Linked DNA regions of Homo sapiens: all the other regions are linked to region 2. Evidence: promoter capture Hi-C in 16 types of primary human blood cells and fetal thymus (Javierre and others, 2016). All regions are on one chromosome and are shown on one strand. The core of a region is centred on a gene start or on the middle of the fragment in contact, and the rest is flanking DNA. Distances in the headings are between cores, read along the strand shown. Region 1 holds the start of YWHAG (tyrosine 3-monooxygenase/tryptophan 5-monooxygenase activation protein gamma). Region 2 holds the start of RSBN1L (round spermatid basic protein 1 like). Region 3 overlaps FPASL (fibroblast proliferation associated lncRNA).

Region 1 (3,255 bases), core at 664-3,163, 1.3 Mb after region 2:
ATTTTTAGTTGAGATGGGGTTTTGCTACGTTAGCCAGGCTGGTCTCGAACTCCTGACCTCAGATGATCCACCCGCTTCGGCCTCCCAAAGTGTTGGGATTACAGGTGTGAGTCACCGTGCCAGGCCAAAGCTCACTTCTTTTTTTTTTTCGAGACGGAGTCTCGCTCTGTCACCCATGCTGGAGTGCAGTAGAGGGATCTCAGCTCACTGCAACCTCCGACTCCCGGGTTCAAGTGATTCTCCTGCCTCAGCCTCCCGAGTAGCTGGGATAACAGGTGGGCACCACCACGCCCAGCTAGTTCTTTTGTATTTTTTGTAGAGACAGGGTTTCACCATGTTGGCCAGGATGGTCTCGATCTCCTGACCTTGTCATCCGCCCGCCTCGGTCTCCCAAAGTGCTGGGATTACAGGTGTGAGTCACCGTGCCCAGCCTTTAAAAAACTTTTTATTTTATTATTTGTTTTTGAAACGGAGTCTTGCTCTGTCGCCAGACTGGAGTGCAGTGGCGCAATCTCAGCTCACTGCAACCTCAAAACTCACTCCTTACTGACTTCTAGCATACTGTACATATCTCACCTATTTTCTTGGGCAGGGATTTTTGTCTGTTTTGTTCACTACTGTACCTCGTGGCTTAGAATAGGGCTTGGAACACAGTAGCTTCTCATAGATAATTGTTGAATACATAAAGTAAATAAAATGTGCAGTCAAAACTATCAGGCCTGCAGGCATGGTGGCTCACATCTGTAATCCCAGCACCTTGGGAGGCCGAGGCGTGAGGATCGCTTGAGCCCAGGAGTTCGAGACCAGCATGGGCAACAAAGCTAGACCCCCGTCTCTACAAAAAAGCAAAACAAAGCAAAAAAACCCATGCTATCTGCAAGCTATGTGGAATAATATGAACGAGAATATATCAGCGTGACCTCAGTAGGTATGTATGTCTTAGGAGGGGAGAGAAGGGCTGGACAACCAAGCCCTAGACGCAGCCCAGTTAGATGTGGAGTAGGCTCCTGGTAGCTGAACTCAATCTTTAGCACTCCACCCTGGAGAGGAAGAAGGGGTTCTCCAGGGTCAGCCAGCAGACAGCTGCATCCTTTCTGGAAATCAACCACTGTGGCCAGCCGGTATTTGTCGTTCGTCCATGTTTTCACCTATTCAGGCCCAAGAGCCTCAAGGTGGGGTGGGGGGTTTAATGGAAGCTCGTAGGGGGTGGAGGTGACAGTCCCCAGGGTCTGGCCCCTTAATTCGGCCATCCCGCGGGCAGGCACCACACTGAGAGTCTGGATCTACAATGGACGCGCCTCCTGTCCTTCCCCCACCACGACCTGCTACGTGATCTCGGAAACAGGGTCTAGGACTGAGGCCCCTGCCCCCTCCTCTCGTAATTTCCCGGAGAATATGGGGCGGGGCGGTGAATCAGCACTCGCAGGGACTGATGCAGCCCTGATCCCCGCCAGGGGTCCCCAGCGGCCTCGGGATTCGAAGCACCCCCCCCCGTCCTCCTGCGCCTGCGCGCTATGTCCGCTGGGAGTTGTAGTCTTGACCGCCCCTTTGTCCTTGGTCTCCTCAGCGCCTCAGTGCACTGCAGGTTACACTACAACTCCCAGGGGCCCATGCGTCCGAGGGCTGGCGGGGCGGGAGGCTCAAGGGGGAGGCGTAAGGGGGCGACTGGAGAAGCTGGGGTGAGGGAACTGGGGAGTGAAGTGAAAAAAGGGGAGAGTGGGGGCGCAGTGGGAAAGGACGGGGTGCCCGGAAGACGCGCAGTGAGCCCAGCTGGGGAGCGGGGAGTTCTAGCCGCGGCCGGGCTCGGGCGGGGCATGGGCGGGGCTTGCGGACGGGTGGGCGGGGCCTGCCTTCGTCATGCGGCGTGGGCGGGGCCGCAGGGGGTTGTCCGTCAGTGGCACGCACAGCAGCCGCAGCCGCCTCGCGCCCGGTCCCGCGGTCGCAGCTCCAGCCGCCTCCTCCGCGCAGCCGCCGCCTCAGCTGCTCGCTCTGTGGGTCGGTCCTCTCCGGCACTTGGGCTCCAGTCGCGCCCTCCAAGCCCTTCAGGCCGCCCCAGTGTCCTCCTCCTTCTCCGGCCAGACCCAGCCCCGCGAAGATGGTGGACCGCGAGCAACTGGTGCAGAAAGCCCGGCTGGCCGAGCAGGCGGAGCGCTACGACGACATGGCCGCGGCCATGAAGAACGTGAGTGTCTCCTCCCCTCCCCCGCCGCTCCCTGCCCCTCCGAAGACGCGGTCCTTGGCGTGGAAGGCCCGGGGCTTCGTCGCCCTGTCGCGATGGCGGGTTGACCGCCCCGTCTCGCTCACTGAGGGGGGCTGGGGAGGGTCCCGAGAGGCGACGGGAACCCGGGCTGTGACGCGGCCTCTTTTCGGAGTCCCCGTGGCCCCGCGGCGCTGCCATTCAGGCCCGGCGCGGGCGCGGGCCGGGGCGAGGTCCCGCGGGGCTGGACTTGGGAGCGGGGTCTCCGGCCCCCGCGGCTCTAGGGGTGCAGGGGACCCGAGCGGGGAGGCGTGCGCATCCTTTGTGCCCCACTTCCCCCCTCCTCCTAGCCTGGGCGTGGGGGCGGGGGACCGCATGGATGCGGTTCCTCTTTCTCTCCCTGGTGTCTGGGCGGCGCCTTTCCCATTCACTCAGCAGGTCTCCCGGTTTTCCACCTCCCCAGCCCCCCCAGAATCTTCCCCACTGTCTGTCCCGACACATCCCTGAGAATCTTCCCAGAAACATTGTATAGGGTCTCTTGAAAACCTGAGCTCCGTGGTGCAAAATCGAAACCACCTTGCTCACGTTTTTCTTAACAAAAGGCTCTTCTTTCTCCATTCGCCCAAAGCAAGTCCTCCGGCTTTTAGGAAGGGAGAACGTTTGTCTCGCTAGCGTTTTCATTGATCATTCTCAACATGTCATCTCCATTTTATTCCCTAATGTTTTTGTATTGAAAAGGGTAGGTATTGCCTGTAAAATTAAAAGGTGGTGAATGTAGCTGACTGGTTCGATTCGTGTGACATATGCCGTTTCTTTTTTGAATACAGGCACGCGTCTGTTGAAATTCCTATAAGTTGGGGGAAAAAATATTCTGTCTGATCTGATAGTGCAAACAAAGCCGTGGTGAGAGGCAGTATCAAGTCATTCCAGAAGATTCTGCATTTGTCATATTGCAGAGAGCCTAGACTGGGTGGAGGCTGGGAGGAGTTATTTTAAAGGGGAAAAAGTCTTTTTAAAAATTTTTGGTTGTTAGATGCATCTGAGGCTTTTTTTTGTTT
Region 2 (3,319 bases), core at 45-2,544:
AAAGCTCCTGGTTTTATCATTTGCTGCAGGGAAAAAAAGAATATGGCTGAAAATTCTTTCAGAAGGGTGGTATTTCAAACAGGACCACCCAAAACACTTAAGAATACGCAGCGGAGAGTAGGGTGCAGGGAGGGTACCTTACGAAACAGCGCACTTCGGGCCCTGCACGCTACCTCATTTCCCTAATAGGGATGAAAAGCTCAGGCCTCTGGTAGCTTCCAGCTGACGCCAGTGCTCTCTCCACACCCCTTTTTTGACAGGATTATCCGGGGTTGAACGCTGTGTCACAAATACGAATTCCCGCGACCACGTCTAAGTGGTCTAACAATCAATCAAGCATCTTTTACAAAACCAAACCCTTCCCCCATCCCGTTCCCTCCATCTCTCTCCCTAGCCAAACAAACCTAGGAGAGTCCTCAAGATGGATTTTCACAAATCCTGCAGCGCACTAACTGGGAGGAAGAAACGATACAGAAAATAAGAGTGTCGGCCATCCCCCTCTCTGCAACCGAAATTACAGGCTCCATTTCCTGTCCCCTTGGGAACTGCAAAATCCTCTGCTGAAAACCGGACGCCTCCCAGCCCCTCCAGGCCGGCGCACGCGGCCGCCGCGCTCCCCCTTCCCGGGCCCCGTGGGCGCCAGGGGGCGGCGGGGACCCACGGCGCCCTCCCCTCCCCCTCCCCGCACGGCACCCACCTCGGGGCAGCGGCTTCACCTCCCCGTTCTCCTCCCGGGAGGCCCCGCCGGCCTCTCGGGCCCCACCGAGACCGTGCCTCCTCCTCTCCTTCTCCCGCTTCTCCTTAGGTCTGCGCGACTTGGCGTTAGCCGAGGCAGCGGCGGCGGCGGCGGGCAGGAGGAGATGGTGAGGCTGAGCGTGCAGCAGCGTAGGAGGGACCAGCAGTTTGCGCGGCACCGGCTGAGACAAGGAAGCGGAGGCTGAGGAGGGAACGGCCGTGCCAGCGGAGAAAGAGAAACTGCTCCGAGAAGAGGACGGGGAGGGAGCAGCAGACAGAGGGGCAAAGCTCCAAGACGCGGGGCTGCCATAGCTCTGAGGCGAAGGTGCTGCCGGCGGCTGCAGCTGCCTGCTGTTCCCGCCGCTGCCCCCTTCTCCGTTCACTCTCCGCGGTGCCTTCTTCTCCTCAGTCCGGACCTTCTTGGCGGACAGAGAACCCGGAGGGTCCCGGGAGGAGAGTTGCAGCTTGCCAAACGGTTCTTTCTCCGAGACGGTGGCGGTGGGGGCCGCGGCAGCGACACAGTGCACGGGGCTCGGCGGTTCCGCCATTTTGCGCTCCTGTTGTATTTACTCTCCTCCGCTAGCCGGCGCGGGGCAGGGGGCGGGCCCTCCGCGAGGGGTAGGGAAGGGGCGGAGCGGCCAGGCCACCAGCCGGCATTGCTCCATTGGGCAAGCCACGCTGAGGGATCCACCTAAGAGCCAATCAAAGGCACAAACATCAGACGAAGGGGCGGGATCGCCACAGGGACCCTCTTCGGAGGTCAGAGCTCGGCGGGGTGCGGCTAGTGGCGGAGCGCGCTGCGAGGGGAGGGCTTTCCACTGTCGCTGGCGTGAACTCGCGTGCCCGGTGGGTATCAGGGAAGAACCCCCGCCCCGGACCCCCAGATCTGCCATGGCCGAGGTAGCGATCGTCTCTGCGGCCACGAAGACTGTTTTAACTTGTACCACTTTCCCTTCCATTTTTCCTGGGGTGCCTCTCACCCTGCATCTGCGCGTTCAGCAAGCTGGATTTCGGGAATGCTCAGTTCAGAAGAGAAAAAATTGCCGGGAATCAAGTCCTTCTTTTTGTTAGTCGGTAGTCGATTGATGGGAAGTGTTCAAAATCATTCGATGTGGTGACAAGGTACGTTATTATTGCTAGATCATGTGCTGTAATCCATTGAAGGAGATAACTTCCAGCAAATCTAGAACTTTAGTATTACTTACAAGCTTGAAGGTGAGAGTCTCCCTTTGGAGACTTTTGAACTGTTGTGACTAGACCCTTAAGATTTTTATTTTATTTATTTATTTATTTATTGGGACGGAGTTTTGCTCTGTTGTCGAGGCTGGAGTGCCGTGGCGCGATCTCGGCTCACCGCAACCTCCGCCTCCCAGATTCAAGCGATTCTCCTGCCTCAGCCTCCCCAGTAACAGGGACTACAGGCGTCCGGCACCATGCTTGGCTAATTTTTGTGTTTATTAGAGACGGGGTTTCACCATGTTGGCCAGGCTGGACTCGAACTCCTGATCTCAGGTGAGCGGCCCACCTCCGCTTCCCAAAGTGCTGGGATTACAGGCGTGAGCCACCATGTGCGGCCTTAAGATTTGAATTTTATAATAATTATTATAGCCGGGCGCGGTGGCTCACACCTGTAATCCCAGCACTTTGGGAGACCGGGGCGGGCGGATCACGAGGTCAGAAGTTCGAGACCAGCCTGACCAACATGGTGAAACCCCGTCTCTACTAAAAATGCAAAAATTAGCTGGGCATGGAAGCGCGCACCTGTAATCCCAGCTACTGGGGAGGCTGGGGCAGGAGAATCGCTTGAACCCAGGAGGCGGAGGTTGCAGTGAGCCGAGACTGCGCCACTGCACTCCAGCTTGGGCGACAGGGCAAGACTCCGTCTCAAAAAATAATAATAATAATAATAATATTATTATTATTATAACGTAGACTTGCCAGGAAAAATTCGTTGGCGATTATTTATGGATGTTTGAAAAGCAAGAATTGTTTTTTTAGGTTTCTGTATTTTAGCGTTTAGTAAGCACACTGCGTGTTCGATGTTTTGTAAGCATGTGCTTTGATTTTTGCTTCGAAAATAAGCAATTTGGGGAGATGGGTTTTAGCTTAAAAGATAAGGAATGTGGCCGGGCGCGGTGGCTCATACCTGTAATCCCAGCACTTTGGGAGGCCAAGGCGGGCAGATCACAATGTCAGGAGTTCGAGACCAGCCTGGCCAACATAGTGAAACCCTGCCTCTACTAAAAATACATAATTAGCTGGGCGTAGTGGCATGCGCCTGTAGTCCCAGCTACTCTGGAGGCTGAGGCAGAAGAATCCCTTGAATCTGTAAGGCAGAGGTTGCAGTAAGCTGAGTTCGTGCCATTGCACTCCACCCGGGGCGACAGTGCCTATTTACTCATTTTTTTAAGAATATTTTTAAGAATTTTTTTTTTTTCGGCCAAGAGTGGTGGGTGGCTCACGCATGTAATCCCAAGACTTTAGGAGGCGGTGATGGGTGGATCACCTGAGGTCAGGAGTTTGAAACCAGCCTGACTGACATGGTGCAACCCCGTCTCTACTAAAAATACAAAAAAAATTAGCC
Region 3 (3,402 bases), core at 369-2,868, 1.4 Mb after region 2:
ATGATCCTCCTATCTCAGCCTTCTGAGTCGCCGGGACCATAGGTGCGTACCACCACCACACACACCTGGCTAATTTTTGGATTGTTTGTAGAATTGAGGTCTTGCTATACTGCCCAGGCTGGTCTTGAACTCCTGGCCTCAGGCAATCCTCCCATCTCAGCCTCCCAAAGTGCTGGGATTACAGACATGAGCCACTGTGCCCAGCTGGTTTTTATTTTTTGAATTGGCAGTGCACACACGTTACAAAAGTGTGAGGCGGCCGTATACAGCCCACAATGCTTGACATATTTACCCTCTGGCCAGTAGTTTGCAGACCCCTGGTTTATCAGAAACTCTTCCCAGCATGCCCATTACCTGATCACCCATTAATTGCCATTCTTAGAGGTAACTACTGCCATCCATTCTTCTAATTTGGTTGAGCTTGAAATAGGATTTTTGCTGCCTTTGAGCACTGATGTGACTCTGGCCTTGTGATTTTAAATATAGATAGTTGAAATTTGGTGGTCCCAAAACAGATATCTTGAATTAGAATATTTAATTCCATTTAAAGGGTAGTTAGGTGGTATTGGGGCACTTGAATCCCAAACACAAAAATTGAAAAGAACGTTACAGTGATTGGCTACAGACCCACTCCTTGATATGGCAGATAAATTCCTCTATGGGTTGTGGAACCTTGAAAGTCACTGTTGGCATTTTACTCCCAATGTTCATATTTCTCCTTACAAAAAGGACATTCTCGGCCAGGCGCAGTGGCTCACGCCTGTAATCCCACCACTTTGGGAGGCCGAGGCGGGCGGATCACCTGAGGTCAGCAGTTCGAGACCAGCCTGGCCAACATGGCGAAACCCTGTCTCTGCTAAAAATACAAAAAAATTAACTGGGTGTGGTGGCTCGTGCCTGTAGTCCCAGCTACTTGGGAAGCTGAGACACAAGAATTGCTTAAACCCAGGAGGCAGAGGTTGCAGTGAGCTGACATCACGCCACTGCACTCCAACCTGGGCAACCGTGAGACCCTGTCTCAAAAAAAAAAAAAAAAAAGGACATTCTCTAATATAACCGCCATACTGTTATCACCCAATTAATAATTCCCTAATATCAGCCCATATGCAAATTTCTCCAAATTGTCCTCAGAATGCATTTGATAGCTTTTTCCAATCCCCCTCCCGCACCACCTAGACTCCAATTAAAATTCATTAATTGCATTTCAATATTAGATTTCTTTGCCTATTTTTTTTTTTTTTTAAGAGACAGGGTCTCAGTTGCCCTGGTTGGAGTGCTTTGGACAATCAGAGCTCACTGCAGCCTCCAACTCATGGACTCAAACAGTCCTCCCAACTCAGTCTCCCGAGTAGCTGGGACCACAGGGCTGCACTACCACTTCCGGCTAATTTTTTTCTTTTTTTTTTTTCAACATGGCCTTCCAATAAATCTATTTTTATTTTTTGTAAAGATGGGTATGTTGTCTAGGCTGTTCCTGAATTTCTGGCCTCAAGTGATCCTCTCACCTTGGCCTCCCAAAGTGTTAGAATTAATGGGCATGAGCCACCACGCCTGGGCCTGATAATGGCTTGAGACCAGGCTACTTGACAGTCTCAAGGCCCCACGTTCTGGGTTTGTCCAGTTGTCTGTGCCTATGTCATTTAGCTTGTTTCCTGCCCTTGTTGGGGTACTTTTTTTGTCTTAAGAACTTTGCTTTCTCCTCCATTTAACCTTCTCACTGGTTCACTCTGTGTTTTTTTTTTTTTGTTTTTTTTTTGAGATGGAGTCTCGCTGTGTCACCCAGGCTGGAGTGCAGTGGTGCGATCTTGGCTCTCGGCAAGCTCCGCCTCCTGGGTTCACACCATTCTCCTGCCTCAGCCTCCCAAGTAGCTGGGACTACAGGCACCCACCACCACGCTCGGCTAATTTTTTGTATTTTTAGTAGAGACGGGATTGCACCATGTTAGCCAGGATGGTCTCGATCTCCTGACCTTGTGATCCACCCACCTCGGCCTCCCAAAGTGCTGGGATTACAGGCGTGAGCCACCACGCCCGGCTACTCTGTGCTCTTAAGCAACTACCAGCAGCAGAGCCTGTTACCTAAGCGGACAAGGCCAAAGCCACTGCTCTGAAAGGCCAGAGGGATTGGCCACTACCCATGGGGACCATCTTGTTTTCTGACTGGAGTCTTCTGGGCTCGGGGATTTGCCTCCTCAATCCTCTCCTGCCTCCCCTGGATGGGAAAAGTACAGTATTAGGTGGTTTAATAAGCACTGGCTTTGACTCACATCCTCACTTGGCCCACTGGGTCCTGGTGGTCTGCAGCTGTTCTGCCCCTATGCCTGGGGGAGGTGGGGAGACAGCACAGCCCACCTTATTCACTAGAGTTAACTCAGGAACCAGAAGCATGCCTGAGACACTTCTTTCATACTGGATCTACACTAGGGGAATCACAATCTTGGTGTTAAATTAGTTCTTCCCACTGTGGTCGGCAAATTACCCTACCACTCATTGGCTTGTAGGAGCTGAGAAGATAAATGAAAGCCTTTTTTTTTTTTGAGACGGAGTCTCGCACTATTGCCCGGGGTTGGAGTGCAATGGCGTGATACCAGCTCACTGCAACCTCCGCCTCCTGGGTTCACGTTGATTCTCCTGCCTCAGCCTCCCGAGTAGCTGGGATTACAGGCATCCACCACCATGCCTGGCTAATTTTTTTGTATTTTTAGTAGAAACAGGGTTTCACTATGTTGGCCAGGCTGGTCTTGAACTCCTGACCTCGTGATCCGCCCGCCTTGGCCTCCCAAAGTGCTGGGATTACCAGGCATAAGCCACCGTGCCTGGCCACAAGAAAGCCTCTTTTTACTCACTTAACCTGAAGCCAGATTTTAGAGATGAGGTTTCATTGGTTGTCAGTTTTTTTGTTTTGTTTTGAGACAGGATCTCGCTCTGTTGACCAGGCTGGAGTGCAGTGGTGCAGTCATAGCTCACTGCAGCCTCCACCTGCTGGACTCAAAGCAATCCTGTTTCAGCGTCCCAAGTAGCTGGGCTATCTGGCCTGGCTAATTTTTAAATTCTTTTTGTAGAGACTGGGTTTTACTATACTATGTTGCCCAGGCTGGTCTTGAACGCCTGGGCTTAAGCGATCCTCCTGCCTCGGTCTCCCAAAGTGTTGGGATTACAGGTGTGAGCCACCATGCCCAGCTGGGTTATGTTCTTTAAAGCCAGATAGCAAACTCACTTTTTATTCCATTAGGTTTATCAAAGCAGACTGCCTTCCAAGAGACGGTATTTTTTAGTGTTAAGTTGACAAGGGGTTTTGCCTGCTAAGTTTGCCGAGTAAATCCTCGGACAAGGATTGTGGGTAGTGGGCAGACCAAGAGTGAGAAATATTCTCTTGCCCTAAATCAGGAGACTACATTAGAA

What was found. Contacts are between HindIII fragments. The CHiCAGO score rates a contact against its expected background, and 5 or more counts as called.
Region 1: the fragment with the promoter of YWHAG here is called in contact with the fragment with the promoter of RSBN1L in region 2 in 4 of 17 cell types (total CD4 T cells, monocytes, naive CD8 T cells and 1 more); the score reaches 10.2 in total CD4 T cells.
Region 3: a contact is called between a fragment that was not itself captured here and the fragment with the promoter of RSBN1L in region 2, in 2 of 17 cell types (fetal thymus and neutrophils). The highest score is 5.1, in fetal thymus.

What each region holds. Positions count from the first base shown.
Region 1 is chr7:76,357,649-76,360,903 of GRCh38, reverse strand. It overlaps YWHAG (tyrosine 3-monooxygenase/tryptophan 5-monooxygenase activation protein gamma), which reads left to right and starts at 1,913. Exons shown (of 2, transcript NM_012479.4): 1 at 1,913-2,182. The coding sequence starts at 2,096. RefSeq lists silencers at 1,579-1,988, 2,309-2,508, 2,592-2,782 and an enhancer at 1,838-2,484. The HindIII fragment of the contact is 9,671 bases long and covers 1-3,255 here.
Region 2 is chr7:77,694,434-77,697,752 of GRCh38, reverse strand. It overlaps RSBN1L (round spermatid basic protein 1 like), which reads right to left and starts at 1,294. Exons shown (of 8, transcript NM_198467.3): 1 at 698-1,294. The coding sequence starts at 1,283. It overlaps APTR (Alu-mediated CDKN1A/p21 transcriptional regulator), which reads left to right and starts at 1,488. Exons shown (of 2, transcript NR_134254.1): 1 at 1,488-1,857. RefSeq lists silencers at 74-173, 464-783, 1,254-1,473 and enhancers at 994-1,223, 408-1,303, 1,304-2,199. The HindIII fragment of the contact is 2,163 bases long and covers 1-1,945 here.
Region 3 is chr7:76,319,077-76,322,478 of GRCh38, reverse strand. FPASL (fibroblast proliferation associated lncRNA) reads right to left here. Exons shown (of 2, transcript NR_186616.1): 1 at 2,032-3,402; 2 at 193-760. Among named protein-coding and RNA genes, the nearest start is that of FPASL, 2.5 kb to the right of the region's middle. RefSeq lists an enhancer at 3,369-3,402. The HindIII fragment of the contact is 7,938 bases long and covers 1-3,402 here.